4 separate regions of the Homo sapiens genome follow, and regions 1, 2 and 3 are each linked to region 4. The links are contacts of gene promoters, found by promoter capture Hi-C in human tissues and cell types (Jung and others, 2019). All regions are on one chromosome and are shown on one strand. The core of a region is centred on a gene start or on the middle of the fragment in contact, and the rest is flanking DNA. Distances in the headings are between cores, read along the strand shown.

Region 1 (6,926 bases), core at 4,424-6,923, 260 kb after region 4:
TTTGTATAAGGTGTAAGGAAGGGATCCAGTTTCAGCTTTCTACATATGGTATACTGGCCACATTTCAAGTCCTCAGCAGCCACCTGTGGCTAGTGGCTGTTATATTAGACAACTTAGTTTTCATATTTTTTCAGGTTTAAAACTTCTAGTTTGACCCAACGTTTCCTTCTCCTACCACTTATTTCTCTGTTCATGTTTCTTTCTTTCTCTTCCTTCATACATTGAAATACATCTTGTTAAATCCAGGCTGGGTGTGGTGGCTCATGCCTGTAATGCCAACACTTTGGGAGGCCAAGGTAGGTGGATCACTTCAGCCCAGGAGTTTGGGACCAGCACCTGGGCAGCATGGCAAAATCCCATCTCTACAAAAAAAAAAAAATACAAAAAATTAGCCAGGCGTGGTGGTGTGCACCTGTAGACACAGCTACTGGGGAGGCTGAGGTGGGAGGATTACTTGAGCCTGGGAGGTTGAGGCTGCAGTGAGCTGAGATCACATCACTGCACTCCAGCCTGGGCAACGGAGTGAGAACCTGACTGGGAAAAAAAAAAAAAAAAGAAAATCCAATGGAAGCTTTTCTTCAATTTCAATGCATTTGACAGAGTTGATTACTTTTTTGGAAACACTTCTTTCTCTGCTTCCGTTACACCAAACTCTCCTATTTTTTTTTTTTGTTTGTTTGTTTGCCTCTCACTGGCTACTCTCTCTGTTTCACCTCTTCTCTTACTTCTGAATGTTGGTGTGTCTCAGGAAGTTCTCTGGCTCTTTTCTCTATCTGTAGTTTCTCTGGAGATGATATCTAGTCCAGCGCCCTTAAATAACATATATATGCTGTTGATGCTAATTTTTATCTTCAGACAAGCTCAACATTTGTATAGCCATCTATCTGCCAATTTGACACCTTGATCTGAATATGTCACAGACATTTGATATATATTCAAAATTTAATTCTTAATTCTCTTTCTTTCTAACCACAACAAACTCATTCCATCCACAAATGAATATACTATTTTCCCTTTCTCTTTAGAAGGATCATCCTGATTCCTCCTTTTACTCCCCTCCCACAGGAGCCTTAACACTAAGTCCAAGCGATTCTATCTCCAAAGCATATATTGTAACTGTTCGCCTTTCCCCATCTTTACTCCTAGCCTCTATATTCAAGTATGCTTATTATTAATTTATTTCCTCTTAGTTCCAAACTACCTTTCTTTGTCCTACTTCACGATACTGGAGATGTACACTGCAAACTACATTTTTTTCTCAGATATCTGGCTTTATATTAGGTTCAGCCAATTAGGGGCTAAGGGAGTGCTGAAGGGATTCTCAAAGTTGGAGAAGGAAAAAGAGATTTATCTTCTCCTGTTATTTTTGCCTTCTCCACATGACAGTGAATGGGTCAGCACATACCTGGCCCCGGCAGTATTCCTTGTGGTGGTGAATTGTTCCTGTGGTTCCAGCAAGTGAATGTCCCCCGGAGGTTTCTTCTTCACCCCAGCAGTGGGTGACATGTTTCTGCACCAGCTGAACCATCTCCTTAGAGGCCCAAATGTTAGTCTGCTGGAGTCCTTTCTCTCTTTCTAAGTTTCCTCCTTGTTTACCTTTCCTTTCATCTTAAGAGTGATAGCTGTAGTCTGAGGTTGCCACCTCTATTACACCATACAATTCTCTTTTATCCTTTTTAGTGGTTAACCACCTTTTTACCAAGTTAACAGTTCTTCATGATTATACTTTCTTTATTTGAATTACTGTGTGGTTTCTGTCTCTTGACCGGACACTGGACTCTTAACGGCAGTAGTGATCACTGCAAGGACTGTAGCATAGGATGGATATTTCTGAGTGTAGTGGAGTGCTTACAGACAGAAGATGAAAAGCTCAGGTCCTTAAGCTCTTGGTTTAGTTCTCGGTCTGAGAACTAGAGGACTTCCATGGCAGCCCTAACAGGATCTTTTATGTCTTGTAGCCACAGGGTTGGTATTGTTAAAAATTAAACACAAAATTTAATTTTACAGGTTGCAGAACTACAACATCAGTAATTTTCTTGGGAAATTAATGCCAAGTTTCTCATGTGAAAGTTAGGTCATTGATTGGGAAGGAGACCCCAAAACTTGAAATGGGCACATATGGTTGGTCTCAAGTGAGAGTGAGAATCTTGAACCCCTGAGTTGCTCTGAGTCTCCCTTGCCAGTGGGAGTATCTTGCTCTTGTGTATCTGCAGAATTTTTTTCTCCCCTCAAAAACCCTGTAATTGCCTCTCCTGGAGCAAATACTTCACAAACAAGAGGATGCTCACTCTCCTCGGAGCCTACCTGAAACACCCGTTACTGCTGCTAGACCCATAACTAGGGTCAATTGTCATCATATTCCAGTGGTGTGGAAGTGGCAGCCAGTCTGTGAATATAACTCTGGCCCTGAGTCCCAAGTTTGCCCCTTATTCCAAAGAGTCACTGTTTGCTATGCAGAGGAAGTATGGGCCAAGATAACCTCACCAAACACCGGGTTCCAGATTCTCAAGCAGTCCCTTTCAACACCATGGTTTCAAAAAGTAAATTTGAGAGGTAATTTTAAGGCTCTTACATAGAAGAATTCTCCCCAAAGAAACATATCTATGGTGATTATTGTTCAATTCTGGACCTCTCAGCATTGTTTCCTTGCTTTGTCACTTATAAAATAAATATACTTCTAGCTTTCTGGCTGTATGGGTGATACATGGCATAGAAATCTTGGGTGGGAGAAATGGGGTGTCTGGCAGGGACAGCCCCTTTCTCTGAGATTTGTTCTCCTGAGCTTTCTGAGTGCTGAGTCATTTTTAGCAAATGGCTGCATTTTAGCTGTTGAAAAAGAAGATCTCTCTTCCAAGGAGAAGGAATGTGGGCTTGTCCTAGTCTTTAGATACTGAGCTCAAGTGTCCCTAAACTAAATTGTTTCATTTTACAGAGGGCTAGACAATTAAAGTATATAAACAGAGTATTTACATGTGTTATATAGTCAGTAACGCTGTTTCCCAAGAGTCCCCATGGGCAGATAGGTTTATTTTACAATTAACAATCACAACCCTTTGTGAAGTTTTGATTGGCAGATTAGAAGCCCAGAATTTACTCTTACACCTCTGGGGTTTTTGTGTGCCCACTTAGGTATGAAGTCAGTTCTTGTCAGTAAGCACTCAGCTTTCATTTCCATCTCATTAGCTGAGAGTACAATCCCACTGAAAACTCAACTGTGGCTTGAGGCCTAATGGGCACCTGTTAATTTTCCTCTGTTCCATAGTCCCATCTCTCAGATCAACAACCTGATCATAAAGGTAGGTGATAAAGGTAGTTACTCATAAAGATGTGTAACTAATTCACAGAGAAGCATCTCTAGTGGAGGATAAACAATTGAAAGTACATAATTCTGGCCAGGCACAGTGGCTTATGCCTGTCATCTCAGCACTTCGGGCGGCTGAGGTGGGTGGATCACCTGAGGTCAGGAGTTTGAGACCAGCCTGGCCAACATGGTGAAACCTCATCCCTATTAAAAAAAAATACAAAAAGTAGCTGGGCATGGTGGTGGGCACCTGTAATCCCAGCTACTTGAGAGGCTGAGGCGGGAGAATCGCTTGAACCCTGGAGGTGGAGGTTGTAGTGAGCCGAGATTGTGCCATTGCACTCCAGCCTGGGTGACAAGAGTGAGACTCTGTCTCAAAAAAAAAAAATTTAATTAGAAAAAACAAAGTACATAATTTTGTTTGGAGGCGCTGAGAAGAGATGATATTGGTGTTGCCTTTTTATATAAAGTTAGGTATTTAATATTTAAGACAATTTACAAAGTTAAACTTTGTGCAAGGTGCTGGTATAAAGCATTGATGAGTTTATAGTGTGATGTTCTTTTCCCTGACTTCTTTTCCTATATTTGCTCATTTGTCATTCCATTTTCTCTAAACATTTCTTCTTTACTATTTTTTCTCTTACATTATTTAAGTGTGTTACAAAAATAATTGTTGTCTATTGAGATTCAGCTATCCCAAAGCAGGAAGATATGGATTTTGAGTACTTCTTATAGCCATGGTGGGCTGCACTCCTGCATTTTGCCTTTGCCACTAACAGCACCTGCTTATGGGACAGTTAGAGGCATGGGAGTAGTAGAAGCAATGCTAGGTGCCCTACCGAGATCAATTCCATAATGTTAGACACTAAGCTGTAGCCATCTGCCCCTTCGAAGTCTATCTTTGTCTTGCTCCAGCATTAATTAGTACAATTCCTACTTCTCTCTGAAACAATTTTAGTTTTAGGTCATTCTCTCTGCCTAGCTACCTTGCCCATATGAAGTCTGGAAAATTTCGTTACGCAGAGGTGTGCCACCCAGAAGAAAATGGTTCGGAGTGGCTCCATTAAGCATAATCTGAAAACATAAAGCCATGTATTTACGATTAGTCTAGAATGAACTCTTGAGGGTTGGGGACTCTGGCTTTGTATTTTCTTGTGGCTGCCTAGCACATTATGTTTTACTTGCCCAATAAGTCTGTTAATGCTTACTTAATAAATACCAACAGCCATGAATAAAAACTAAGAAGCTAGACTGGGTATTTCAATAGTCAGGTGGACAAATTCTGTGAGAACAAACAAGTAAGAGTGACTACCTTATTCACCTTCCTTTCCAAGCTGGGGTTTGTTTTTTTATTCCAGCCTTGTAACCTAACCTGGTATCAGAAACTGTTGATCCAAGGAGGAAAAATGCTGAAAACAAGGCCAGAGATGAGAGATATCTACACCTCAGGCTGTTTCGTAACAGGTGTTTAGTAAAGACATCACTTTTAGTTTATATTGGCTCATACTCTGCAGAGCAAGTGGAACGAGACAAATCTGGGAACCTGGGCTCAGTGCCACAGTTATACTCAGAGACCTGCTGCCACTTCCAGGCTGCTGGAACATGTTGAAATTGGACTCTAGTTATGGGTCTAGTGGCAATAAGAAGTGTTTGGGGTAGATTTTGAGGAGAGTGGGCATCCTCTCTTTTGTGAGGCATCAGCTCCAGGTGAGGCAATTACAGGGTTTTCAAGGGGGTAAAAAAAGAAAAGACTTCTTAAAAGACACGGAAGGGCAAGATAGTTTCTTTTTCTACAAGTTTATTAGCTTTAGACTTTATAGTCTATGATCCATTTTGAGTTCATTTTGTATAAGGTGTGACATATAGTTTAGGCTTATTCTTCATATGTATGTATGTGTGTATGTATGCATGTATTGTGTGTATATGTATGTATGAATTTATGTGCATCTGAATGTCCAAATGTTCCAGTATCATTTGTTAAAAATACCATAATTTCTCCACTGAATTCCTTTTACATCTTTAAAGAAATCAATTGACCATAAATACAAAGGTTTATTTCTGGACTGTCAATTCTATTTCATTGATTTATCTTTTCCTTTGCCAATCCCACATGATCTTGACTACTATAAAGTCTTGAAATCAGGTAGTATGACACCTCTAATGTTATGTTTTGTTTTCTTTCTTTTGGCTAATCTGGTTATTTTGGTTTTCCATATAAAATTTTAATTGTCTAAATCTACAAAAAAACCTACAAAAATCCTTTGGATTTTCAATTGGAATTGCATTAACTCTGTAGATTAGGAGAATTTACATTTTAACAATATTGAATTTTCCTTATCCATGAATACTGTATCTCCACATTTATTTATATCTTCTTTGACTTTTTCATCAATCTTTTGTATTCAGCAAATTGATTGTGCACATATTTTATTGTTTATAACTAAATATTTTCCTTATTTTTGGTGCTATTATAAGTGGTATTTTTGAAAAAAATTCAGATTTCAATTATTCATTGCTGGTATATCGGAATATAATTAACTTTTTTATATTGACTTGTACATATGCTGGCACCTTGCTAATTCACTTACTAGTTTAAAAGCTTTTTGTAGATTCAATGAAATGTTCTACATGAACATGTTATCTATGTATGAATAAATATATTTTTGCTTTTTCCCTTCCAATATTTATATCCTTTACTTCTTTTTATTGCCTTATTACACTGGCTAGCACTTTCAGTACACTGTCGAATGTGTCAAGAGAGGACAACTTTTTCTTCCCAGTCTTAGGGGGAAAGCATTAGTCTTTCATCATGAAGTATAAAGTTAGATGTAGGTTTTTCATAGATGCCTTTTATTAGTTTAAGGAAGTTCCCTACTCTTTCTTGTTTGCTGGAGTTTTTTTTTTTTTTTTTTTTTTTTATCATGAAGTGATTACTGAATTTATTCTAAACTTTTTCTTCATCCAATAAGATATTCATGTGATTATTCTTTTTTAGACTGTTGACGTGGTGAATTACATTGATGGCTTTTCAAATGTTGAGTGAGCCTTGCATTCTGGGGATAAGCCCCACTTGATCATGCCATATTATTAATATCTTTTAAATATATTTTTGGATTCAATTTGATAATATTTTATAAGATTTTTGTGTCTGTGCTCTTAAAGGATATTGGGTTGACATTTTCTTAATTGTAATGTCTTTGGTTTTATTGGGTAATGCCAATCTCATAAAATCAATTGAGAAGTGTTCCTTCCTCTTCTTTATCTGGAAGAGATTATGTAAAATTATTATTTCTTCCACAATGTTTGGTAAACTTCATCAGTGAAACCACTGGGGCCTAGAGAATTCTTTTTGGAAGGTTTAAACTACAAATTCAATTTAAAAGTTATACATACATATATATGAAATAAATCATTGCTTTAACATAAACTTTTTTCTTCCTGAATGAATTTGGTAATTTTTTTTAATTTTAAAAATTAGTGCATTTTGTCAAATTTACAAACAGCTTTTCATAGTACTGTTCCCTTGTTATCCTCTTAAGGTCTGTGGGGTTAATAGTGATGTTTCTTCTCTCATTTCTGATGTTTCTAATTTGCATCTTATTTTTCTTGGTCATCCAGGCTAGAG
Region 2 (7,175 bases), core at 915-3,414, 460 kb after region 4:
GACTTTTCCTGAATTCATCACACTTTGACTGATGGCTACCTTTGCATTGTATTAATTTGTTCAAATTGCTCCCCTTAGAACTCGATTTTTAAATAGAACATCAAAGAGTTTAAGATCTTATACACAAATTCATCCAACCATAACCCTAAATTCAATAGTAGACCTAATGCCTCCATCTCTCCACTTCTGTAACTGTCCTGGAATGTCTTTCAGAAAGCTGGGAAGATAGACTGCTGGCTGCATATTGACTTCTTATCTACTGCATACACGTCCTACAACTAATATTTAGACATGACTAAAGAGAGACAGGGTAACTTTGAAATTTCTAATAGAAAAAAACTCATCTCACTTTAATTTATATGCTTGGTTCAATTTTAGCAGGAAAACCCCACAACGTCAGAGGAGCTTATCCAGCTACCTTCACAGCATTATGTAGTATTCTCTGTCCACAATCCCCATACCAGAGTAGGGCAGAAACTAGACGTTCATATGTCTTGGCTTTATCCCTCTAACCCATAGCTCAGTTCTCTCTTTGTTACCAGGCAAGAATCAAATGAGAAAACAGTTGCCAGGTCCTGATGTTTTTGCCTCAATTTGTCTGTGTTATTAAGGTTGAATTGCAAGGCCTATGTCTTCTTCATTACTCCCCTTCTCCAACTCCCAACTTTACTTTTTTGAATACTCACACTCTTACCAAGTATCTAGGAGAACCCTTTGCCAGCACGGCATGGGGCAGAGTCACTGGTCTACTATGGATCCTGTTCCTCTAGCTTCTGCCGGCTTTCTTCTTTGCCATATGCCTTTTGTATTCTATTCTAAGTTCGTTCACTTATGTTTGAGGATTCTTACTTTTGACCTCCCTCCCAGATAAATGGGGATACTAGAGCTGAGCTCTTGTGGTTGGAATGGTTATGACTAATATACAAGTATAGGGCTTGAAGAAAAAAAAGCCTGATAGCTGAAAACTGCAGAAGAGTTGCCTATGAGAGAAGGTCTAAAATATCAAGTCCAGATAAACAGGGGAAAAGCAAGACATTGACCAAAATTGAAGGGTCAGCCAAAAATTCTGGTAAGACAGAGTGAATGGATTTAAGAGAAAAAACCTGAAAATATTCCTAAATGCAAGGAAGTACAGGGGATGGGAATCTTTTATAGTTTGACCATGGCTGAGCCCATGGAAGGGAGGCATGTAAGATTTCAAGGAAGTTCTGAAACTTATCCTGCTAGAAGGAAGCTTGTAATCATTTCATCTGCAAACTCTTAAATACATCGTAAGTATAATTTTCACCAGAAATTTCTATGGAAGTTTTCTATTACCAGGGTGTTCTGTGAAAAGTCTGCTGCAGTTCCTTGTTCATTTGGGGAAATTTCTCTTGCTCTCACTCCTGATCAGTGCTCCCCCTGATGTCTGAGTTGCTGCTTTCTATCAGCCTTCAGCATGGGTTCTTCACAGTTATGAACCACACATCCTACTTTGGTGGGAACAGTTGTTCCCTAATTGTAGTCCAAGCCAACCTGCAGTAAATATAGACATTGAGAAATTTCCTATGCAAGGCAAGTAAACGTTCTTCCAACCTAGATTCAGGGCAGAAGTGCAGTGAGTATGTAACCATTTAATATCTAGTATTGCACAGATAATTATCTCAAAGGAAGAGAAAAATGGTGGAAAGGCTCCTTAAGGAATTCCCTATATTTAATTTCAGCAAATAATTATGTATTTTAATAATTTCAACAATCAGAGCTTCACATCTCTGATTAGATTTGTATGAAGATTATATGAAGCTATATCAAGAGATCCAAAATTAAGCTGTTAAGCGTTCTTCCAACATAATTATTGAAAATTGGACTTACCTTGTAAGATAGACTTTCTGGAAGACTTTATTTTTTCCCTCCCTCCTTTCTTTTCTATTTTTCTTTCTATCATGAGAGTTGAGGACTGGAACTATTATAAAAAGTGGAAGAATCAGTATTTTGACAGTATTATCTATTAACATAAAACATTTGATCTAGTTAGCCAACTAAAACCATCTATTAACATAAAACATTTGATCTAGTTAGCCAACTAAAACCATCTATTAACATAAAACATTTGATCTAGTTAGCCAACTAAAACCTGCCTAAAATTCAAGCCACACAATAACAGGGCATTTACCTTATTTTCCAATCATAATTCTCTGTCTTCTAGAAAGGACTTCAACAAAGGACACGTTCCTGTGTTTCTTTCCAGGGAAAATAGGTTGCCATATAGGGTAGGCACAAATCCTTATAATGGCAATTGACACAGGGGCCTTAGTCTTAAGCATTGACTCCTCCACAGTAGTGTCATTGTAAAAACCACAAAAATGATCACAATAACCATAAGAACTAACACTTATTGACAATTTCCCAGGTACTCTGCTGTGTCCTTTATATGTATTTTCCCTTTTAATCCTTAGAATACCTCTATGGGATAGAAACTGTTACCATCCCTATTGTACATATAAGGAAAATAACACTTAGATTAAATAACTATTGCAAGGTCACACAGCTGCAAGGGCTAGAACTGGGACTGAAACCATGTCTTCCTCACATACCCTCCCCCTGGCCCCTTTCAGACATCTTGAGGGCCCACCTTGGTCAGCCCTTCCCACATGTGAGATTGCCTCATCTATTCACCAAATAGGTATTGAGTACTATGTGCTAGGCACTGTCATAGAAAATGGGGGTTCAATAATGAACAAGATCAGTCTCTGCTATCAAGGGGCTCAAAGATTAATTCAATTTCCCTTCAATTTTTTCTGTAACAAGATTTCTTTTCAGATTTCTTTCTTGGGCAATTAACAAGAAGTGAAAATTTAGATGCCTGTACAGAACCTGCAGTTAAATGGTGTGAAGTATGCCAGGCAAAGGTAGAATTCTGGGAGCAAAGCTGTTTTTATTTTGACCAAATGCACACATCTGCCTAGTTTTTGCCATATTAAACACCTGGCGGCTTTATAGTATCTATGGACTGTATTTGTGCCTTCATTTTCAAACGTTTCCAAACCTAAGTGTTCATCAGAATCACCTGTAGGGCTTAAGACAGACTGCTTAGCCCCATCCCCAGTTTCTGATTCAATAGGTCTTAGGTGGGGCCTCAGAATTTGCATATCTAACAAGTTCCCAGGTGACATGGATGGTGCTGATGTGGGGACTACATTTTGAGAAACATTGTCAGGCCACCTATGCATAATTTTAGTCTTCCTATTATATTAGTTATATTATTTCTGGTGAGATTCCTAAGGAGTTTAGTCTCTCAATAGACATTTGATCTTAAAAGCCCCAGATCTCATACTACTTCTCTCCCTTCAATCCTCCAAAAAATATTTATTGAGATCTGTGTTAAGAAACTGGAGAGGCCGGGCGCGGTGGCTCACGCCTGTAATCCCAGCACTTTGGGAGGCCGAGGTGGGCGGATCACGAGGTCAGAAGATCGAGACCATCCTGGCTAACATGGTGAAACCCCGTCTCTACTAAAAATACAAAAACTTAGCCGGGCGTGGTGGCAGTCGCCTGTAGTCCCAGCTACTCGGGAGGCTGAGGCAGGAGAATGGCGTGAACCCGGGAGGCGGAGCTTGCAGTGAGCCAAGATGGCGCCACTGCACTCCAGCCCGGGTGACAGAGCGAGACTCCGTCTCAAAAAAAAAAAAAACAAAAAAACAAAAAATGAAACTGGAGATACTGAAATGAATAAGACAGTATGGCTGGTAGCTTTGTACATATAAGACATGATTTTCTGTCTCTTAACCTCTATTTCTATATTCTCTTTCAGTATAATCTGTTCAATTTATTGAAATTTGTTTCAGGGTGATGAGCTAAATTATAAGTTAAACTAAGAATTCACCTACATTTTATTAATGTGTTAAATGGTAAAATTAATGAAAACCTTTAAAAGTTTTCATAGAACAAATAAAAATAAACAAGTAGATTAAAATAAAGATCTCAATTTAGTCACTAGATGCCGTATATATAGGATAGTTAGCTATCGAATGGCTTCTCAGGTGCACTGACGAACAGGGAGTATGCTCAGCACTAAATTTTCTTTGGAAAAGTACACATTTGAAGATTTAAGAGGTTCAGGAACTTTTTTTTTTATTTTAAGTTCAGAGGTACATTTGCAGAATGTGCAGGTTTGTTACATAGGTAAACATGTGCCATGGGGGGAAATAGAACATATTATTCTTATGAGTTATCAGTATGACTACCATCGATACTGCCAGTATCACCCAATATTTATTAAGTGTTGACTGTGTGTCAAGAACTATGGTTCGTGTTAATGATGCATTATCTCTTCCTGCTCACGAACTCTGTGAAGCAGGTACTATTATTATCTCCATTTTTACTAAGGCTTTAGGCAGATTTAATACTAAGTGTTGGTACTGAGTGTAGTCTTGCTGCTAAAGGCAGGAAGCTGTGGTGTCCTGGCACATGAACTGTTAATATACTGTGTGCTTGGGAATTAGGTAGACTTAGGCTATTTTCCAGAAGTCATGAGTGCCCTGCCCAGGTCCACCCACTGACTTCACAGCCCAGCTGAGTTTTGCCCTTTTCTTGTGTCCTCCCACCCTGTGGTGTACTGGGTGTGGCACTGCTAAAAGAATGACATCACAAGGAACAGAACACTTAGCTCTACCAGAGTGTAGCTTTCTAAGAGACACTAAGAGTATAGCTTTCCCTTGCTATGATATTGTAGAAATTGAATGGACAGTTTTATTTTTGGATAGTTCCCTCAAGCTTGCATTTTGTTAATATGAGAGATGTCCTCAGAGACTAACAAAGATCTTTTCCCTGATATCTAGGTCAACTTTTCGGCATTCACAAGTCCTCTTGTTGCTTTAAAATGTATCTCAATTTTGATATGTTCAAAACTGAGCTTACCTCTTTCTGCCTCTGCAAACCTGCTCACTCTCTAGTATTTTCCACCTTGAAGAATGGTCCTGTCATGAATTCAGTTGTCCCAGCCAGAAACTCATCCTTAACTCTGGTCTTCTCCCTATCCCTCCCTTCTACTTAATTAAGTCTTGTCGACTCTACTTCCTAAAAGATCATCCACTGTTTCCCCAACCTGCGTATTTACCTTTCTTACCTTCTTTCCTTTAGTTGGCTACTCATTCATCTTTTATTCATGTTGTTGTCAAAGTAAAACTTCTAAAACTTAAATTATTATGTCATGTTCTTACTTAAAATCCCATTAATGAAAACCTTTAAAAGTTTTCATAGAACAAATAAAAAATAATCAAGTAGATTAAAATAAAGAGCTCAATTTAGCCACTAGATGCCGTATATATAGGATAGTTAGCTATCGAATGGCTTCTCAGGTGCACTGACGAACAGGGAGTATGCTCAGCATACTTTGGCAGCTTTCCATTGCTGTTACCATAAGCTCCAAATTTGTAACATGACTTACAAGATATTTCATGTGTCTGGCTCCCGCCTGCCTCTCTTGTCTTTTCTCTACCCACTTATAATCCCACCATGATTAATTTTCTTTGGCATCTTGAAAAGGTCTCTCTCCCATGTGAAACTTCTTTTTTCTTTTCTTTCTTCCTTTGTTCTTTCTTTCGTGAAATTTTCTTTTCTTTTCTCCTTCCTTCCTTCTTTCTCTTTCTTTCTTTCTTTCTTTCCTTCCTTCCTTCCTTCTTTCTTTTTCTTTCTTTCTCCCTCTCTCTTTCTCCTCTCTTTCTTTCTCCCTCTTTCCTTCTTTCTTTCCTTCCTTCCTTCCTTCTTTCTTTCCTTCTTTCTTTCTTCCTTTGTTTTTTTTTGACAGAGTCTCACTCTGTTGTTTAGGCTGGAGTGCAGTGGTGCAATCTGGCTCACTGTAACCTCCGCCTCCCAGGTTCAAGCAATTCTCCTGCCTCAACCTCCTGGGTAGATGAGACTACAGACGTGTGCCACCAGGCCCAGCTAATTTTTTTTGCATTTTTCATAGAGACGGGATTTCGAAGTGTTAGCCAGGATGGTCTCAATCTCCTGACCTCGTGATCCACATGCCTCGGCCTCCCAAAGTGCTGGGATTACAGGTGCGAGCCACTGCGCCTGGCCTGGAACTTTTCATATGCTGTTCTATCTATCTAGAACACTCACCCCTCAAGTCCTGTTCATCAGCTTAAATATTCATTTCTCCTGGACACTTTCTATTCTTCTTCATTAAGTAAGCTATGAGGCTACAAGGGCTTTGAACTTCTTTAATGTAACACTTGTTCACTTTATTATAAATTCTTGTTTAAAAGTCTTATCATTTCTGCTGGCTTATAAACTCAGAGATGGCAGAGACCATATCCAACTATTCATAAATGTATCACGAAGCTTGGCACATAGTAGGGACAAATTAAATAGCTTTTTAATTAGTTAATCATTTGAATGACAAGTAGGATCAAGTTTTCAAATAAACTTATACTTTCCTACATCACTGAAGACATGTAGACATGTAGCATTTTAATCTCTACCATCTTTTCCTTGTTTTGATGATTTTAAAAAACAAAAAAAATAAAAAATGCCAAACTGGGTCAGAGATAACCGAAACTTTGTTTAGCTCTAGGTAAAACTATGAAATAGAGAAAAGATGAATTCAGTGGCCACTATTTTCAACTGGCTGAGGTTTAAGTTTCTCTCCTTTCTGCTCAATGCCCTCAGTTGAGAATCTTGGGTAGGCCCAGTTCCCCCTAGAATTTATAATTTTTCCTCTTAATCTTTAAAAAAAACTCACTAAAACTCAGCTCAGATGTATCTTTTCTCTCCCTCCTCCTTCAGAACATACTCTGTATTCTGCTTTTCCATGGAGCCACAGGTTTGGAGGAAATCTCACACCGTATCTAGTCTAACTCACCCTTCTATGCTTTAACTTCTCTTTTTCATTTTTTATGTTAAGGGTTATCCAGTGCTAGTTGCAGTGATACTCAGTGACAGGGAACTCCTTACCTCCAGAGACAGCCCATACAGATAGTACTAATTGGTCAGAATCCCCTCTTAAAAGGGCACCCATCCCTGAGTAGGAGGACACATTTTGCTTTATTGCCAATATAAACTTTGATAGAGTTTATTCATCTTTTTCTGAGACAAGGTTTGGTAGGGGAGGAGAGGAGACAATATTTAAGGCATTAGATTCCCTGGGAAAAGAAGGAGGCACTATAGAAATAGGAAAAAAAGGTATAGAAATG
Region 3 (6,306 bases), core at 2,299-4,798, 320 kb before region 4:
CAGGCTGGTCTTGAACTCCTGGGCTCCAGTGATCCTCCCACCTTGGTCTCTCAAAGTGTTGGGATTACAGGTGTGAGCCAGCATCACACCCAGCCTTCATTATCTCCTTATGAACAAGAGCTGATTTAAGCTTGGCCCAATGCTTACTCTCAGCCTACAAAAAGACAGTCTCCAATTGTTCAGTAGATAAAGTTGTTTGTAATACAAGTAAACTCTTGGTTAATACCCAAGGATGTGCTTTTTTTGGTGGCTATTTTCCTAGGGTATCGAAATACATTGTATCCCATATATTCTTTGGGTGATTTAGAACACCGATGAATTTTTTAATTCGCTCTAACCTTCAATAAATTTCTATATTTTATTTAGTTTTTAGAGACAGAGTCTCACTCTGTCACCTAAGCTGCAGTGCAGTGGCACGATCATAGCTCACTGAAGCCTCAGTTCCTGGGTTCAAGTGATCCTCTTGCCTTAGCCTCCCGAGTAGCTAGGATTACAGGTATACACCACCACGCCTGGCTAATTTTTTTTTTATTTTTTGTAGAGACAGGGATCTCACTATGTTGTCCAAGCTGGTCTCAAACTCCTGGCCTCAAGCAATCCTCTGGCCTCAGCCTCTCAAATTGCTGGGATTATAGGCATGAGCCACTGCACTCAGCCCAGTAAATATTTCTGAGTCTTCAACCTCTTATGAAGGTCAAAACCAAACTGATCTCTTGGATTGATTCCAAAATCTCCACTGAGTATACTGGAAAATATGTTTTTGCATATTCAACAATATTGGGCAGTTTTTCCTCCTACTCTTTAGCAGGATGACTTCACAGTCCAGATCCTGCAGCAGATTGCCAAGCTCAATTTCCAGCTCTACCACAGTTTTGATGAGTGACTGCTGGGCGATAACTTAACCTTTCTCTTTCCTACATTTCCTCATTTGTAAAATGGTGATAATAATAATACCAATTTATAAAGCTGTTTAAGAATTTAAATGAGTTATTACATTCAGAACAATGCCTGACACAACCTCAGCACTCAATTAAGATTAGCTGCTAGCTGGGCATTGTGGCTCACGCCAGTGATCCTAACACTTTGGGAGGCTGAGGTGGGCGTATCACTTGAGGTCAGGAGTTCGAGAACAGCCTGGCCAACATGATGAAACCCCATCTCTACTAAAAATTAGTCGGTCGTGGCTGGGTGCGGTGGCTCACGCCTTTAATCCCAGCCCTGTGGGAGGCCGAGGCAGGTGGATCATGAGGTCAGGAGTTCAAGCCCGACCAACATGGTGAAACCCCATCTATACTAAAAATGCAAAAATTAGCAGGGCGTGGTGGCATTCACCTGTAATCACAGCTACTCAGGAAGCTGAGGCAGGAGAATCGCTGGAACCCAGGAGGTGGAGGTTGCAATGAGCCGAGATCACGCCACTACACTCCAGCCTGGGTGACAGAGCAAGACTCAATCTCAAAAAAAAAAAAAAAGAAAGAAAAAAAAAGGATGGAAAAAATCTAAAGATGCCTTAAAAACTGTTTTAGGTTTTTATATCAGTTGCAGGAAACATAAGCACACTCAGATTATATCAAGTAGTAGACGGTTTACTAAAAAGATATTCAGGGAAATTTTAAAAAGAAAATAAAGACGAATCTTAGCCACAAATCTCAGCCAACCAGGAAAATAGGAAATGGCAAGATCACTGGATCACACAGGAATAATGTGAATCTGAATACAGCTGAACTAGACAGAGTCAATACTGTGGTTTCTGAACTAAAAACTTCTTCAGGATTCAGCACAAATAAAGCATCCCCTCTGCTGCAAGAACTTGCTGACATTTCCTGAGTGCTCAGCTATTGACATCGTATCTTTTCTCTACGATTCTGTTTCTCTCAGGGTGACTTTCTGCCCTTGCTCCTAATACCAACTAATTGACCCCCTAAATCTATAGATCAAATACCAGATAGATTGTTGCTAAGGACCTGATGACAAAGCTCTCACTCCAAGTTCTTTCATAGGAAGCCAGCCAGTCAATCGTTTGCTGTTCTTGGGCCAATGGCACTCACCTGGTCCAGTCAAGAGGAACAAACACATCCACTTATTCTGATACCCAAGGATATCGCATTGTTAAAGATTTCCCTAGAAAGAGGCTGTGGGTACAATTAGCCCTTCCAGTGAAACAGACTGTTCTTTGAATATATATACATAAATATATGTATATGTATATATATCAAAACAGGGTCTCACTTGATCACCCAAGCTGGAGTGCAGTGGCGCCATCTTGGCTAACTGCAGTCTTGACCTCCCAGATTTCAAGCAATCCTCCTGCCTCAGCCCCATAAGTAGCTGGTACTACAGGCGTACGCCAACATGCCTGGCTAATTTTTGTGTTTTTTTGTAGAGATGGTGTTTCACCATGTTGCTCAGACTGGTCTTGAACTCCTGAGCTCAAGCAATCCACCCTCCTCGGCCTCCCAAAGGGCTAGGATTATAGGCATGAGCTACCATGCCCAGCCCTGTTCTTTGATTATATTTGAAGCATGTAAAAATGTTTGGTGGTATTATCAATGACAGAATTCAAAGCTTTAAGCTAAAAATAAAAATAATAATAATATTTTTAGGCTCTCACCAGTAAGATTAGAGATTATCAGAATGAGAAGAGAGGTCTTTCAGTCCAAACTAGCAATATCCTATCCATGACACTGGCCAAGACAATGTCCATACCAGGGTCCTATCAGGCTTGTGGAAGATACTCTAAATATTTAAAACAGACAATGTTTGATGTACGGAATTAGTTACATAGGTGTTAGGAGGGGCAATCCAGAGATTAGCCACCAACAACACTAGTTTAAAGGGACAAAGAGAGGAAAATGTTTTACTGGGGCCCAGGGACTAGGGTTTCCTGGTGGAAGCCTGCTCAGCCTCAGGTGGGGCCATGAAGGAAACAGCTGTTGCCCAGGATTCCACCTGAAGCAAGAGGAAGAGAATCAGCAAGAAGTAACTTGGCTTCTTTTTCCTCCTTCTTAGCCAAACACACCAGGAAGGCAGCTGACACAGGAAGGCCAGTCCTTACTGTGAATCAGGGATCAAGTAAAGCAAGAAATGGATCTGGAGGTAAACAGTCTCAGGACCAGCCCTGTATCTCATGATTAACTGAGTCAAATTGGTTATTACTATCATTAAAAAGAGAAAGCCATTCAAGCTTTGGATTGGCTAAATTTACTTGAGATATCTAAGAGAGTCAGTACTGTTATAATATAGACTGAGTACATTGGAATGAGTATAACTGGCTTTGAATCCTAGTTCTGCTATTTACTCTGTTTTATTTGGAGTGAGTTATTGAACCATCCCAAACCTCAGTTTCTTATTCTGTAAAACGGCAGTAATAATATCCATCTTCTAGTATTGTAAAGATTCAATATAATGAGTATAAAGCTTCTAGATGTGGGGGATGCTTTCTTTTTATGATGGTGGTCTTAAATACCTGGGCTCAAGAGATCTGTCCTCCTCAGCCTCTCAAAATCCTAGGATTACAGGCATGAGCCACTGCGCCTGGCCAACAGGGAAATCTTGCCATGTCCCTCTTCAGCCTTTCAGACTTTGCTCTTAAAATAGAGAATAGCCCAGTGAGGTGGAGCTTGCCTGTAGTCCTAGCTACTGAAGAGGTTGAGACAAGAGGATCACTTAAGCCCAAGAGTTTGAGGTTACAGTGAGCTATGATCGTGCCACTGCACTCCAACCTGGAGTGAGACAGAGTGAGACCCTGTATCTCCTAAATAAATAGATAAATAAAAATAATGGATAATTTTTTCAATTTATGTTCCATGCAATATTTGGGACATATACTAGAATACTATTGTTTATTTAAAATATAAATTAGTTTAACATCCTGTACACTATCTAGCAAACTTATCTTAAAATAAAGCTCAAATGATTTGAAGATATTGAAAAAATAAATTAAATAAAGCTTGAAATTCCTACTTTGGCTTCCAAGGTCTACCTGCTGGCCTCTGTGGCATCTTCTTTGTTTGCTAGGCTCCCTCTGAATCTGTATACTTTCTTCAGCCAAACTGGATTTCTGTTAGTTCCTTAAATATACCACACTTTTTCCTACCTCAGAGATACTGCACATGCTATCCTCTGCCCTGAAACATTTTACCCCTCGTTTGCCTAGCTAATTCCTACTCATCTTTTCACTTCAGCTTAAACATCACTTTCTTGAGGAACCTTCTCTGTTCATCAGATTAGGTCAATTCTTACTGCTAAACATCCCCATGTACTTTGGCCTTCAGGACACTTAACATACTTGTGGTTATTTAATTATAAGTCTTCTATCTCCCACACTAAACTATAAGCCTCTGAGGGAGAGACCCTGTCTGTTTTGTTTACTGTTATATCAACATAGCACGGCCAGACGCAGTGGCTCATGCCTGTAATCCCAGCACTTTGGGAGGTTGAGGTGGGCGGATCACCTAAGGTCAGGAGTTCAAGACCAGCCTGGCCAACATGGTGAAACCCTGTCTCTACTAAAAATACAAAAATTAGCCAGTTGTGGTGGCAGGCGCCTGTAATCCCAGCTACTTGGGAGGCTGAGGCATGAGAATCATTTGAACTCGGGAGACAGAGGTTGCAGTGAGCCAAGATGGTGCCACTGCACTCCAGCCTGGGTGACAGGAAAAAAAAAACAAAAAAAATAGCACGATGTCTGTGGTGTTATGTGGCACATAGGAGGTTACCAAATATTTGTTGTGGTTGTAATAAAGTGAATACGAATTAATTTTGTTCTGTGACTTTTATATCATCACTTGAGAACATTTGTGACTCAATTAGATGTTGCAGAAACAAGGTTAAGTATCTTTGCAGAAAAAAAAACCATAAATGAACATTTCAATTTTGGTAGTTAAAATATTTTTGCAAAAATGTAGAAAATAATTCTTTTTCCATGTAATTTCAGCAAGGAAGGCTTTGATTGCTTGATTGCCCCAGATGAAATGCTTGATTAGAAAAATTCTTCCGAGATCACGCCACTGCACTCCAGCCTGGGTGACAGAGCAAGACTCCGTCTCAAAAAAGAAAGAAAAAGAAAAAAAGAAAAATTCTTGTTAGGAATTCAAGAAAAAAACATTTATTTTTTGTAATAGTTTTTAGCCAAGGAAGAGATTATTTTATTCTTCTTTTTCTCCCCTAGGATATAAATCCTGACTAAGAGAGAAATTGATATGGACACTTTCCCCTTGAGAAATTAGTGCAATATTAGTTTTAAAGTAGACACTGAACATTCTTGACAGATGGGTAAAAAGTCCAAATCAAAAGCTTGACAGGAGGGCTTATTATTTGGGAATAATAAATGAACTGAGTTAACAGAAGGAAACATGTCATTTAGGATACCTTCACTTCAATTTAAGTGAAATGGATATAGATGTACCTTGAAGTTTTGAGACTCTGACAACTGCAATCATAAAAATCAGGGCACAGAAAAAGAAAAAACATGGATAAGTCCTTTAAACTGAGTAAAGGGTGTCTATATGGGAAATAGAAAAATAGATTATTTCTGCAGTCCCTTGATTTCTACACTCTTCCTTATAGGTGAAACTATCTCAGTGGCTAACTTAGGCAGAATAGGAATTTACTAGGAGCAAACTGAGTAGCTCAAAGTTTTTTTGTTTTGTTTTGTTTTTTTGAGATGGGGTCTCACTCTGTCACCCAGGTTGGAGTGCAGTAGCCTGATCTTGGCTCACTGCAGCCACTGCCTCCCAGGCTCAAGTGATCCTCCCACCTCAGCCTCCTGAGTAGCTGGGCCCACAGGCATGTACCACCATGCCTAGCTATTTTTTTTTTTATATATATTTTTGGTAGAGAAGGGGTTTCGCTGTTCTGCCCTGACTGGTCTTGAACTCCTGAGTTCAAGCCTCCTAACGTGTTGGGATTACAGGCCTGAGCCACCGCGCCCAGGCAGTTCACAGTTATGAAGAACAGGAATTGAGAGAACCTAGATAGCCAGAATCACAGCTAATGTCAGCCTTGAAATGCCCTGATAAGAGTACCACTGCCACTGCCAGTGGATGCTGGCCATCACCTCAGGGATTGCTGCCATCAGACTCTGATGTCCCACCAGACTCTTGGTACCAGCGCTGCTAGTGGGATGAATTCTACTTAATTCTGTGTAACTTACTGCAGATTCACAGTCCCAACTAACAGCATCTATAGTCGTCCAAGCTTAGATCACTTTCCTTCAGCCTAGTTGGGTGTGTATTTTGTGTTTGGCAGATTGAGGGAGGGCATTTAGGCAAGTATCTGACCTTTCCAGTCCTTATAGTGGGAGAA
Region 4 (6,523 bases), core at 120-2,619:
TATCATAATGAACTTAATGATTATTTACTGTAAAAAACATGAAAAAAGGAAAATTTAAGTGTTTAGCACTACATACAATCCACAGCACTTTTCAGAAACAACTTCTGTATTTTATTCTATTAAAAAGCTATTAATTCTTAATATTACTTTTGATTTATTGTAGAACAAGACTCATTAGTTCCAAGCAGAATTTAGTAAGATTGAAACTCTTTTTTAAAAATTTAAATTATTACATGCTGAATTTTAATCAGTGAAACCAAAGGTTTTCTTCCTAAATGCCTACCTGCGCATTGGCTTTCCTTCCATGCACCATGAAAAGTACCCTTCACCACACTCTAAAGCCGAACCTAAGACAACAGAAAAGCAGGAACTTAATAAAAGCTATTTCTGATCTTTACAGTAACAATCTTTATATAATCATTTCACTCATTTCGTCAGTTATCAAGAGTTTCATATCCTATTATACCACAGGCCTTCTGCAGATGCACAATAACTTAATCTAGTACATTTAAGATTACCATCCTTACTCTGCATGCTAAAACGATTAAAGTAAAGGTGAGGGAAAGTATGCTAAATAGTCCCGACTGTTAGGTCAGTCTTGTTTCTCTTCAAAAAGTGCTTGGAGATATTTAACTGTGATCTCGACATCAAGTATATTTACAGAACAAGCACCAGATACCCACAGCAGTACTAACCTGATAGATCACATAGGGTACACGAGGCTTTAATAACGAATCTGAAGATTGTTAACTTGTCCCGAAGTGACAGGAGGAGGAGGCGTCTGCATTTGCCTTTACAAACAACTCCGCTTCCGACAGTCCAGGGAGCTTGAACAGGGCAGGGAAAGTATGGCTCCAGACTAACACTCTTTACAAGCATTTCCTTCAGTCCCCGATACAATGTTCACTACCCACGTAGCAGGATTTCGCCAGGTCCCGAGGGTTAAATGGGGGCGCACGTACTTTCTTCCTTCCCTGAATTCCAAACACTGTCTGGGGAAGCTGTCCAGGATGCGAAACCCCAGCACCACCAGGCAGGACAAAGCCCGGGGCCTCCTCTGGCTCCCGAGATAGGCTGTCAGCCAGCGAGAGCGCACTCTGGCGCTCCGCGAGGCCCGGCCCCAGCGCCCCAACAGTCTCTTCTCGGCGCCGACTGACAGGCGACCGACCTGACCCCATGGGGCAGCTCAGCAACTTGGGACCACATATCTGCGAAGCGAGCCCTGGGGCGCTGTCCGCTGTCCCCTGCTCTAAGGTGACTGGCTCACTTACCGGCTCTGACACTTTCTTCTCTGCAGCAGCCTCCTCCGTCTACTCCGCCCTCCACTCCTCTCTGCCTCCTCCTCCACCGCCGCTAACGCAGGCAGGATGCCGCTCGTAGAGCTATTTCCTTTCCCTTCACCGGCCCATATCCAGAAGCAGGAAGTAGTCCTATTCTTAAATCGTTCCCGCAGGAACCCACATAATCCGCCAAGGGGTTCCGGTGCGGCTCCGGAAGTAGTCGTGCCCTTTGCTGGGGCATTCAGGTAACCTCAGAGGTTGTTTATCCTCGTGGGGGTTCCTTGTATCCCAAGAGTAACCATTTTTAGAATTCACTGCGGAACTGGCAGTATTTGAATACTGAAGCCTCCTCTTTTCTTCTTTGTTTTCGCCAGCAAAGGCAGTAAAGGGTAGTCACAGAAAGCTAAGAATTTGTATTTCTTTTTAGTTGGTGGGTCTCCTTTTGGCACAATGTTCCTAATTGTGGATTGAATTATTGCATGCACACATGGGTTGGCATGTATCTGTCAGGCCTCTACTATGTGCAAGGTGCAGAAGTTAGATAGACAGACCAGAGATAGACCTTATCCTCCAGATTTCCCACGGTCAAACTTTCAGGACACCAGGATTTTATCCAGGCTCTAAGGCTGTGTTAGTCTGCCCTTTCTACTTAGTATTCACCACCAGACACTTCACCAAACACATCTTCTGTGGATTCACTTTAATGTTAAGGAGGGAAGAGTATATTTTCTTAAAAAAATTTTTTTTCAGTAGCAAGCAGAGCCAAAAAAGTATATTTTTAAAATTATCTTTTCCTCCAGATTTTCCCATAGCACACAGCCACCTGATTTTTACCGTATATTAATATTTAGAAAACAAGTGATACAAGTGTAAGGTGGGGATTACAATTTCAGGAATATCAGAGAAAGACTGTTGCTGATTTCCTGGTAAGTATACTAGGCTAAGTATTAACCAGATTTTCTTTAGCTGTTCTTTATGTAGAATCTACACAGGTGTGTCCAGTTGTTTCTGAGGGGAAAGGATACCTCTTGTTAATTAGCTTGTAGTGGAAAATACATGGCCTTTAGATCCAGATATAGTGGCCCAGTGGATTCTTCTTGCCTGCTGCCCAGATACAGATGATTTATCAAGGTATAGGGATTGCAATGGAGAAAGAGTTTTACACAACATCGAGTGGAAAAATGGAAGAAGTTTTATTATTACTCAAATCAGTTATATTATTACTCAAATCGGCCTCCTGGAGCATTTGGGGGCTAGGTTTCTTTTCAAAGGTAGTCTGGGGAAAGGGGTAGGGGTGGCTAGGCAATGGGTGCTTGCTGCTGACTGGTGCAGTCATAGGGGTATGGGAGATGGTCCTCCTGCCTACTGAGTTGTTTCTGGGTGGAGCCACAGGAACAGTTGGTGGGTCCAGGTGGAGCCATCAGTAGTCAAACATGCAAAAAACTTAAAAATATACCCAAAAAGGCCAATCCTAGATTCTACAATAGTGATGTTATCTGTAGGAGTAATTGGGGAAGTTGCATATCTTGTGACCTCTGGAATAATGGCTGGCAATCACTTATGTCTACACTTAACAGAATTCAGGCTCATCTATCCCCGTTGTCTGGTGGTCTCTCATTAGCTTTACAAAGGCAATTGAGTTTTGGGGAAGGACTGTAATTATTTAAACTATTAAACTAAATGTCTCCCAAAGTTATCTTGGCTTAAGCCCAGGAATAATTAAGGACAGACTGAAAGCTAAAGGCAAGATGGGGTTTGGCTAGATCAGATCTCCTCCACTGCTATAATTTTCTCACTGATAGAATTTTTGCAAAGGGGGTTTCAGTTTGCAAAGGCGATTTCACGGATACACATAGGTACAAATCCTAGACCTGTAACTGACTAGCTTTGTGATCTTATTGAAAATTTTTACTGCATGTGTATATGTGATATATATACATATGCAGTAAAATGATTTCTTTTCCATATTTTAAAACTTTTCATAAATGGTATCAAAGCATATGTATTCTTTTGCAACTTCCATTTTCCACTCAACATTCTGTTTGTAAGATTTGTCCATGTTGATCAATGAAGGTCCAATTCAGTGATTCTCAAAGTGTTGTCCTGGACCAGCAGCATCAACATCACTTGGAAAATGCTAACCCTTGAGCCCCATTACAGACCTATTGAATCAAAAACTGAAGGTGGGCCCCAGTAATCTGTGTTCTAACAAGTTCTCCAGGTGATTATAGTGCATGGTAAAATTTGAGAACTACTGCACTAATTTATTTATTTTCACTGCTTTATAGTATTCTATTATATGAATATACCATAGATTTTTTAAAACATTTTTTTCTGCAGATGGATATTTTGACTATTTCCAGTTTTCTCCATTACAAACAGTGCTACAATGTAAATTCTTGCATATACCTCCTTGTGTACACCTGTAGGTGTTTCTTTGGGGTGTGCACGCAGAAGCAAAATTGCTGGGTTGTATGCTATGCACAGCTTCAACTGTATTAGCACTAGTCAAATTGCTCTCTAAAGTCATTATTCTATTTCAGTAATAATAATACTAGCAAATACTTATGTAGCATGTTATAGTAACTCATCAATACTCACACTAGTCCTCTCGAGGTAGGATCTATTATCATCATTCCAGTTTCACAGATGGCACCAAGATGTTATGTAAGTTGCCCAAAGTCACACAGCTAGTTATGAAGTAGAGCAATAACTTGAAACCATACACAATGGCTCTAGAGTCTGTGCTTTCAGCTACAGTGCTGTGTTGTCTCTCCATTACAAGTGTTTGAGGGTTTTTGTTGGTCTATATTATCATCACAGTTGGTGTTTTCCAACTTTAAATTTGTTTTTGCCAATTGGTTGGGTATAAAATGGTAATTCACTGTGGTTTAAATGTTTATTTCTCTCATTACTGTTCAAACATTTTTCATATGTGAAAGTGGCATTCAGATTTCCCTTCTGTGAATTGCTTATTGTAAAAGATACCTTCAAAGTGACTCCTATTTTTTCCGTAATATGAATTAAACTATTTTTATAATTCATAGTATAGGTATGAAAATGTTACTATATGGTATAAAAATGTTACTAAAAATGCTGCTAACCAAAGACTGATTTTAAAACTCCTGTCCAGGATAAGAGCAGTCCCTCCTATTTTTGTATATCTGTGATTCACTCCCCAACCCACTGCAATCTGGTTTGTGCTTCTGCTACTCTGTTTCTTTTTGAAGTGGAGAAGTTCAGTGTGAATCAACCCTTTTTATTTATGTCAAGACCTAGAGAACTCCATTTAGAGATGTGTTTATGGTAAACCTGGCATTTGCAGTAATTACAGTTTTTCTGCCACCTGAGTAAGACTATGCCCTTCGGGAGCCTGAATTTCTAGTGGAAAATACACATGAAATAGATTTTATTTAGATTGGGTGTGTGAAAGGAAAATATCTTGGGCCCCCAAAATCACTAAGCTAAAGGGAAAAGTCAAGCTGGGAACTGCTTAGGGCAAACTTGCCTCCCATTCTATTCAAAGTCACCCCTCTGCTCACTGAGATAAATGCATATCTGATTGCCTCCTTTGGAAAGACTAACAGAAACTTAAAAGAATGCAACAATTTGTCTCTTATCTACCTATGACCTGGAAGCCTTCTCCCTGCTTTGAGTTGTCCCACCTTTCCAAACGGAACCAAAGTTCATCTTACATATGTTGATTGATGTTTCATGTCTCCCTAAAATGTGTAAAACCAAACTGTGGTCTGATCACCTTGGGCACATGTCATCAGGATCTCCTGAGGCTGTGTCACAGGTGCATCCTCAACCTTGGCAAAATAAACTTTCTAAATTAACTGAGACCTGTCTCAGATTTTCGGGGTTCACAGGTATGAGGTAGTGACAACAGCCAAATAATTCTTTTCAGGGGTTGCTGAGCTTACCTTATAGTTTTTCAATCAAAAATTATATCTTGTTTCCAATGTATAAAATACAGTGGTTGGACCTAAGGTTTAGTTGTAGGTGAGACCCACAGGGCCCATTGTTTGTGGAATTTTCATTCTTCTTCTTTTTTTTTCTTTTTAAGTAGGGTCTCAATCTGTTACCCAGGCTGGAGTGCAGTAGTGCAATCACAGCTCACTGTTGCCTCTGCTTCCTGGGCTCAAGTGATCCTCTCCCCTTGTTACAGTAGGTGGCTAGCCAGGCATGTGCAAGGCAGGAGAGGGCTTCTCCCGCACCTCACCAGGAATGTCAGGTGACCATCGGGTGATGGTCAGGCAGTTGTCACGCTGCCTCTCTAATATAATAATTGGTTGCAAACAGCACCAGGGAAAGGCAGTTTCCCAGTAGATAAAAACACCTGAAACTGGTGGCAGCGTCTCAATAAGATCTCAGGAATTGGGTGAGTGGGCTCCAGCATGTGCATTAAAGGGCAAAATGGCAGAGTTTAGCTGGTATATGACCTTCCAGGGGCATTCCACCAGAATGGGAAGAACGCCTCAAGTGAGCATGTGTACAACTCCAGTAAACACACTCTGCATGCTCCCCTCCCAGGCACTAGCAGGCCATTGCACATGCGGACAACCCACCCCAAGGGAAGAATCAGGGCAGAAGGGATGCAAGACCCCAGAAGCATGCCAGCATATAAAATGCTAAGTCAGAAGGTCAAACTTCACACTTGTTTTCAAGTTGCCTGCTTGGACCTGTTCCACATGTACTTTCCTTCCTTTGACTCCTGCTCTAAAACTTGCCTCCATCTCTTCTGCTTCATGCCCCTCAGTCAAATTCTTTCTTCTGAGGAGGCAAGAATTGAGGCTGCTGCAGACCCATATGGATTCACCACCGGTAACAACCTCAGCCTCTTCAGTAGCTGGGACCACAGGAGTGTTCCACAATGCCCAGCTATTTTGTTTGTTTGTTTGTTTTGTAGAGACGAGTTCTCACTATGTAGCCCAGGCTGGTCTTGAACTCTTGGGCTCAAGTGATCCTCTCACCTTGGCCTCCCAAAGTGCTGGGATTAGAGACATAAGCCACCACACCCAGCGAATTTTTATTCTTGAGGAGACAGACAGTATAAAATTGAACCATGAATTACATAATTAGTTGTTTAATTACGATTGCGGTAATTGAAAGTGATCTACTGGGTGCTAAGAAAACACCTAGTAGGGTGGCTTATGCCTATAATCCCAGCTCTTTGGGAGACCCAGGCAGAAGTATTGCTTGAGCCCAGAAGTTTGAAACCAGCTTGGGCAACATAGGCA

What was found. Contacts are between HindIII fragments. The study calls those that stand out against the background at their distance.
Region 1: a contact is called between a fragment that was not itself captured here and the fragment with the promoter of KLHL20 in region 4, in 2 of the 25 tissues and cell types used here (hippocampus and mesenchymal stem cells).
Region 2: a fragment that was not itself captured here is called in contact with the fragment with the promoter of KLHL20 in region 4 in 1 of the 25 tissues and cell types used here (neural progenitor cells).
Region 3: a contact is called between a fragment that was not itself captured here and the fragment with the promoter of KLHL20 in region 4, in 1 of the 25 tissues and cell types used here (hippocampus).

The regions. Positions count from the first base shown.
Region 1 is chr1:173,450,029-173,456,954 of GRCh38, reverse strand. The region is part of intron 1 of PRDX6-AS1 (PRDX6 antisense RNA 1); the gene reads left to right. All of the region lies in intron 2 of LOC100506023 (a long non-coding RNA gene), which reads left to right. It also overlaps a transcript of TNFSF4 not described here. Among named protein-coding and RNA genes, the nearest start is that of PRDX6-AS1, 7.9 kb to the left of the region's middle. The HindIII fragment of the contact is 4,874 bases long and covers 3,237-6,926 here.
Region 2 is chr1:173,246,959-173,254,133 of GRCh38, reverse strand. All of the region lies in intron 2 of LOC100506023 (a long non-coding RNA gene), which reads left to right. It also overlaps a transcript of TNFSF4 not described here. Among named protein-coding and RNA genes, the nearest start is that of TNFSF4, 43 kb to the right of the region's middle. The HindIII fragment of the contact is 6,748 bases long and covers 1-5,538 here.
Region 3 is chr1:174,033,710-174,040,015 of GRCh38, reverse strand. No RefSeq gene overlaps it. Among named protein-coding and RNA genes, the nearest start is that of RC3H1-DT, 14 kb to the right of the region's middle. The HindIII fragment of the contact is 4,399 bases long and covers 1,349-5,747 here.
Region 4 is chr1:173,709,827-173,716,349 of GRCh38, reverse strand. KLHL20 (kelch like family member 20) reads right to left here and starts at 1,369. Exons shown (of 12, transcript NM_014458.4): 1 at 1,272-1,369; 2 at 284-347. The coding sequence starts at 306. It also overlaps a transcript of ANKRD45 not described here. RefSeq lists enhancers at 826-1,195, 1,276-1,465. The HindIII fragment of the contact is 13,268 bases long and covers 1-6,523 here.